Regions from separate parts of the Homo sapiens genome. Here region 2 is linked to region 1. Evidence: promoter capture Hi-C in human tissues and cell types (Jung and others, 2019). All regions are on one chromosome and are shown on one strand. Each heading gives the region's core, a stretch centred on a gene start or on the middle of the fragment in contact. The rest is flanking DNA. Distances are from core to core; before and after follow the strand shown.

Region 1 (3,268 bases), core at 640-3,139:
ATGTTGTCAGGGCCACCCTGGCCCACCCTGCCTGGCCCCCCACAGACCCCGTCTCACCTGGAGCAGCAGCACTGAGTCAACGGAAGCCACGTGGCCTTCGGCCAGGCAGAAGTATTCGACCCAGCGCCCATCCTCTGCCCAGCGGGACAGGTGCTGCTCCAGCGCAATGCAGGCTGCCGGCCAGTCAAAGTTCTTCTCTGTGGGTTACCACGAGTAGGGTGCCCAGTGGGCAGGGACCCTAGCACCCATGCCAGCTGGCCAAGCCCAACCCTGGCTTCCAGGGAGCCCACACTACACCAGACTTGGACAGAACCCCATGGAGATCCCTACTCCCACCCCAAGCCGACCCAGGCTGTGGTCTTGGGACCACCTGCCTGCCCATTTCCCAGGCAGGTCTAGGACTACTCACTCCAATTTCCAGAAATTGGGAACTGGGGTCTCAGAACTACCTCTCCAGGCGCCATCCCCCAACCCAAACTCAGGGCAGAGCAGTCTCAGGATGTTGAGGTCTGACCTCAGGCTCAGCATAGAAGCTGGGACCTCATGACTAACCCTTCCTGCCTCAGCCATCTGAACCAGACCAAGGGGGCTGTTTCTCAAACAGTATCTGGAAACCAGGGAGCCTTGTCAAGATGCAGAATGCAAGCCCCAGATGCAGATTCTGTGATATGGACGGGGTCCAAGCATCTATGTTTATTAAGCTGTTTGGGAGAGTCTGACCTGGGGGTTGGATGGCAACACCTTGAGAATCACTGATCCCGGAGTGATCCTGATTCCTCTCTAAGCAGAATCAAAGCTTCCAGGTTAAGGGTATCAAACACCCAAGCTGTAATACATCTTGGCTTAAGGGCCTGAGGATCCAGCTGTATCAGGATCAACAATATCGATTCAAAGGTCCCAAGCTGTCTTCCCTCAGGAACCAATCAACTCAGGGCCAAGAGCCACTGTCTCACCCCTAACTGGGTCAAGGCTCTAGGGCTCAGGAGTTTTGACATCAACAGGTGCTGTCTCAGCTTCTAAGCTGGACTCAGAACCTGAGGATCCTTGGGCTCACTTTGAGCCCCAGCATAAACTCCAGAGCCTAAGACTTCAAGTCCCTGTGTCAATCCCCAATCAGGGGTCAGTGGCTTAGTACCACAAGACCCCAAGACTGAGGATATTTGGATCCTGAGTCGTCCAGGAACCACAGCCCCATGTTAGGGTTTCACAGCCTCAGGACCCCAAGTGCCTGACTGCCTCGTGGTCCACCCAGAGGTCCTCAGGGGCTTCGGCACCACCAGTAACTACCTTAGCCTCCAGCCTGAGCCAGGACAGCCACGAAGCCTGCACCAGAGGCTGCATCCGGAACACCCCATGTACCTCTTCCCCGCCCCAAGCCTGACCTGGGCGGGCGCCCCCGGCCCCCGGTCCCCGGCCCCCGGCCCCGCGCACCTTCCACCACTGGGTAGGGCGCGCGTACGCGGCGTAGCGCGCGTAGCCTCCAGGTGACATGGTCAGACACGAGGTCGCGGAGCGCGTGGCACACCCGCGACAGGACGTGGAGCACGAGGCGGGCGTCCAGGTAGGAGCAGATCTCGAGCAGCAGCTCCGGGGGAAGGCTCAGAAGGCCCGGCTCACTTACGGCCGAAACCCTGGACGCGGCCCGAGGCTCCGAAGCGCTCGGGGACGCGGCGGGTGTGGATAGCTGCGAGGGGCGCGAGAACGCCAGCCCGGATTTTGGCGGACTGAGAACGCGGGCCACGTAGGCCTTGGCCTGCGCGTCTGGGTCTGTCTCTGACTCTGGGTCCGAGTCATCGTCCCAGGTGCGGGAATCATCGCACCGCCCTAGGGGAAGCTCCATTGCGACCGGGTGGGCGCTGCCGGCCTCGCGTCTTGTCTCCTAGGCAGCACGAGGGCACTTCCGGCGCTGTCTGATGACGTTTATGCGCCCACCGGAAGCGACGAAGTCAGACACTGGCTTAATACAGAACATCGCCCCGCTTACAGGGTCTCTTGCAACTGCGTCGGCCTTAGGCTGGAAAATGCAGGTTCCTGTTTCTGCGCTTTTTAAACTAGCCGATACCGAGAGCCAGCCAACTCTAGCTAAAAACGAAACTCAAGCCAGGCGGGGTGGCGCGCGCCTGTAGTTCCAGATACTCAGGAAGGTGAAGGGGTAGGATCCCTTGAGTCCAGGAGTTCGAGACTGCAGTGAGCCATGGTTGTGCCACTGTACTCCAACCTGCGCAACATAGTGAGACCCTGTCTCTTTAAATTAGACATAAAATAAACACTGCTTTAACGAAGGCATCTGTTATATGTGACACTGAGCTTAGAAACCCAAAGGCCCCTTTCCGAGTTCAAGGAGTAGAGATTGGAACTCTTGCCTCTTTTCCCAGAGCCAGAAATATGCAGTTACACTGCAGAGGCATCAGTTAAGTGACTTTTTTTTTTTTTTTTTTTTTTTTTGAGAAAGGAACTGGGGCCTCAGAACTACCTCTCCAGACCCCATTCCCCAACCCAACCTTGGAGGACAGCAGTTCAGTCCTCCAAGCGGAGTGCTTGGCTCATTGCAACCTCCGCTTTCTGGACTCAAGTGATCCTCCACCTCGGCCCCCCAGGTAGCTGGGACTACAGGCGCGCACCACCACACCCGGCTAATTTTTGTATTCTTTTGTAAAGACAGGGTTTCACTACGTTGTCCAGGCTGGTCTGGAACTCCTGAGCTCAAGCCATCCGCCCCCAACTTGGTCTCCCAAAGTACCAGGATTACAGGCGTGAACCATCGCGCCTGGTGGAAAGCTACCTTTTTCTTTTTTCTGAGACGGAGTCTCACTCTGTCACCCAGGCTGGTGTGCAGTGGCGCGATCTCGGCTGGCTGCAACCTCCGCCTCCCGGGTTCAAGCGATTCTCCTGCCTCAGCCTCTAGAGTAGCTGGGAATACAGGCACGCGCCACCACTCCTGGCTAATTTTTGTATTTTTCAGTAGAGACGGGGTCGCACTATGTTGGCCAGGCTGGTCTCAAACTCCTGACCTCGTGATCCGCCCGCCTCAGCCTCCCGAAGTGATGGGATGACAGGCGTGAGCCACTGCGCCCGGCCTAACATCACACTTACTAAAACAGCATGTTGGCCGGGTGCGGTGGCTCAGGCCTGTAATCCCACCACTTCGAGAGGCAAGGTGGGTTAATCACTTGAGGTCAGGAGTTCAAGACCAGCCTGGCCAACAAGGTGAAACCCCTTCCTACTAAAAATACAAAGAATTGGCCGGGTGTGGTGGCAGGCACCTGTA
Region 2 (3,615 bases), core at 975-3,474, 47 kb after region 1:
GGGAACCAGAATTGTCTGGATCATCAAGTGCCCATTGGAGATTTGTGTTCAGAAGAGGGGAGCAAGGGCGGGCGTGGTGGCTCATGCCTGTAATCCCAGCACTTCGGGAGGCTGAGGCAGGTGGATCAGAAGGTCAGGAGTTAAAGACCAGCCTAGCCAAGATGGTGGAACTCCATCTCTACTAAAAATACAAAAATTAGCTGGGCATGGTGGCTCACGCCTGTAATCCCAGCACTCTGGGAGGCCGAGGTGGGCGGATCACAAAGTCAGGAGATTGAGACCAGCCTGGCTAACAGGGTGAAACCCCATCTCTACTAAAAATACAAAAAGTTAGCCGGGCGTGATGGCGGGTGCCTTTAATCCCAGTTATTCGGGAGGCTGAGGCAGGAGAATGGCGTGAACGCGGGAGGTGGAGCTTACAGTGAGCCTAGATCGCGCCACTGCACTCCAGCGTGGGTGACAGAGCAAGACTCCATCTCAAAAAAAAAAATACAAAAATAAGCCAGGCACGGTGGCTCACGCCTGTAATCCCAGCACTTTGGGAGGCTGAGGCGGGCAGATCACCTGAGGTCGGGAGTTCGAGACCAGCCTGACCAATATGGTGAAACCCCGTCTCTACTAAAAATACAAAAATTAGCCTTGCGTGGTGGCCGGCACCTGTAGTCCCAGTTACACGGGAGGCTGAGGCAGGAGAATTGCTTGAACCTGGGAGACGGAGGTTGCAGTGAGCCGAGATCATGCCACTGCACTCCAGCCTGGGATACAGAGCGACACTCCATCTCAAAAAAAAAAAATTAGTTGGGCCTGGTGGTGGGCGCCTGTAATCCCAGATACTCGGGAGGCTGAGGCAAAGAATTGCTTGAACCTGGGAGGCGGAGGTCACAGTGAGTCGAGATTGTGCCACTGTACTCCAACCTGGATGACAGAGCGAGACTCCGTCTCCAAAAGGGTGAGGAGCAAGATGGGAATACTCTTCAGGAGTGTTCGGCCCTCAAGTGCAGTGATACTAAAGAGCTAGAAAGCCATACCTATCATTTCAGTGCTTGCAGAGACTGAGACAAGAGGATCACGTGAGGTCAGGAGTTCAAGACCAGCCTGGGCAACAAAGGGAGACCCTTTCTCTACAAAAAACAAACAAAATTAGCTGGGCATGGTGGTGTGTGCCTATAGTCCCAGTAAGTTGGTAGGTTGAGGCAGGAGGATCATTTGAGCCTAAGAGTTTGAGGCTGCAATGAGCTATGTATGAGATGGTATCTTTTTTTTTTTTTTTTTTGAGACTGAGTTTCACTCTGTCACCCAGGCTGGAGTGCAGTGGTGTGATCTCAGCTCACTGCAACCTCTACCTCCTGAGTTTAAGCGATTCTCCTGCCTCAGCCTCCCAAGTAGCTGTGATTACAGGCGCCCGCCACCACATCCGGCTAATTTTTGTTTTGGGGGGGTTTTTTTTGTTTGTTTTGAGACGGAGTCTTATTCTGTCGCCCAGGATGGAGTGCAGTGGCGCAATCTCGGTTCACTGCAACCTCTTCCTCCCGATTTCAAGTGATTCTCCTGCCTCAGCCTCCCGAGTAGCTGGGACTCCAGGTGCATGCCACCATGCCCGGCTAATTTTTAGTATTTTTAGTAGAGACGGGGTTTCACCATGTTAACCAGGATGGTCTCGATCTCCTGACCTCGTGATCCACCCGCCTTGGCCTCCCAAAGTGCTGGGATTACAGGCGTGAGCCACCGCGCCTGGCCTGTATTTTTTTTTAGTAGAGACGGGGTTTCAACATGTTGGCCAGGCTGTTTTCAATCTCCTGACCTCAAATGATCTGCCTGGCTTGGCTTCCTAATACACTGGGATTACAAGTGTGAGCTACCGCGCCCGGCCAAGACGCTATCTCTAAAAGAAAGAAAAAAAAAGCTGGAAGTAACCAGAGTGGGGGATTTTGCCAACAGCAAGGGGAAAGGGAGTGTTTGCAGAGGGAACCTGTGGAGGCTGGGCTGGATAAGGGTGCCAGCCAAGAGGAACACTGACAGTTTACAGGGGCCAGGTGAGGGGATGAAGTAGTCCAAAGAAGCTTAAAATATATGAAGCATAAGAAGAGGGTGCAGTGATGAGTGGGCAAGCTCCCCAACAGGGAATGACCCCTAAGGCCAGCGAGTTGGGTACTTCCCCATGGGACCCATGAAGTTACCAAGAAGAGGTGACAGAGGAGGAAGATAAAGAGGGAGGCATTGGCCGGGCATGGTGGCTCATACCTGTAATCCCAGCATTTTGGGAGGCTGAGGTGGGTGGATCACCTGAGGTTGGGAGTTGAAAACCAGCCTGACCAACATAGAGAAGCCCCGTCTCTACTAAAAATACAAAATTAGCTGGGGTGGTGGCGCATGCCTGTAATCCCAGCTACTCAGGAAGCTGAGGCAGGAGAATCACTTGAACCCTGGAGGCGGAGGTTGCAGTGAGCCAAGATCACGCCATTGTCCAGCCTAGACAACAAGAGTGAAACTCCATCTCAGAAAAAAAAAAAATTACAAAAATTAGCCAGGCATGGCCAGGCGTGATGGCTCGTGCCTGTAATCCCAGCACTTTGGGAGGCCGAGGTGGGTGGATCACGAGGTCAGGAGATCGCCACCATCCTGGCTAACACAGTGAAACCCCGTCTCTACTAAAAATACAAAAAATTAGCCAGGTGTGGTGGCGGGCGCCTGTAGTCCCAGCTACTCACTGCACTCCAGCCTGGGTGACAGAGCGAGACTCCATCTCTTTTTTTTTTTTTTTTTTTTTTTTGAGATGGAGTCTCGCTCTGTCGCCCAGGCTGGAGTGCAGTGGCGTGATCTCAGCTCACTGCAGGCTCCGCCCCCTGGGGTTCATGCCATTCTCCTGCCTCAGCCTCCCAAGTAGCTGGGACTACAGGCACCCGCCACCTCGCCCGGCTAATTTTTTGTATTTTTAGTAGAGACGGGGTTTCACCGTGTTAGCCAGGATGGTCTCGATCTCCTAACCTCAGGTGATCTGCCTGCCTCGGCCTCCCAAAGTGCTGGGATTACAGGCGTGAGCCACCACGCCCGGCCAAGACTCCATCTCAAAAAAAAAAAAAAAAAAAAAAATTAGCCAGGCATGGTGGGGCATGCCTATAGTCTCAGCTACTCGGGAGGCTGAGGCAGGAGAATTGCTTGAACCCAGAAGGTGGAGGTTGTGATGAGCTGAGATCGCGCCACTGCACTCCAGCCTAGGCAACAAGATCAAAACTCCATCTCGGGAAAAAAAAAAAAAAAAGAGGGAGGCATTGAGTCTGAGACTGGCCAGGGACCCCAGCCATGGCCATCCCTTCATAGATTCTACATACATGTTTGTGTTTTGTTTTGTTGTTTGTTTTTTGAGACAGAGTCTCCCTCTGTCACCCAGGCTGGAGTGTAATGGCGTGATCTCGGCTCACTGTAACCTCTGCCTCCCGGGTTCAAGCGATTCCCCTGCCTCAACCTCCAGAGTAGCTGGGATTATAGGCACCCGCCACTATGCATGGCTAATTTTTGTATTTTTAGTAGAGACGGGGTTTCACCATGTTGGCCAGGCTGGCCTCAAGCTCCCGACCTCAGGTGATCTGCCCGCCTCCGCTTCCCAAAGGGCTGGAA

What was found. The method cuts DNA at HindIII sites, captures the fragments that hold promoters and counts their contacts. A contact is called where the count stands out against the background at its distance.
Region 2: a contact is called between a fragment that was not itself captured here and the fragment with the promoter of FBXW9 in region 1, in 1 of the 25 tissues and cell types used here (spleen).

What each region holds. Positions count from the first base shown.
Region 1 is chr19:12,694,742-12,698,009 of GRCh38, forward strand. FBXW9 (F-box and WD repeat domain containing 9) reads right to left here and starts at 1,890. Exons shown (of 10, transcript NM_032301.3): 1 at 1,432-1,890; 2 at 58-197. The coding sequence starts at 1,840. RefSeq lists enhancers at 1,800-1,849, 2,160-2,219. The HindIII fragment of the contact is 8,232 bases long and covers 1-3,268 here.
Region 2 is chr19:12,740,977-12,744,591 of GRCh38, forward strand. All of the region lies in intron 2 of GET3 (guided entry of tail-anchored proteins factor 3, ATPase), which reads left to right. Among named protein-coding and RNA genes, the nearest start is that of GET3, 5.3 kb to the left of the region's middle. The HindIII fragment of the contact is 4,515 bases long and covers 1-3,615 here.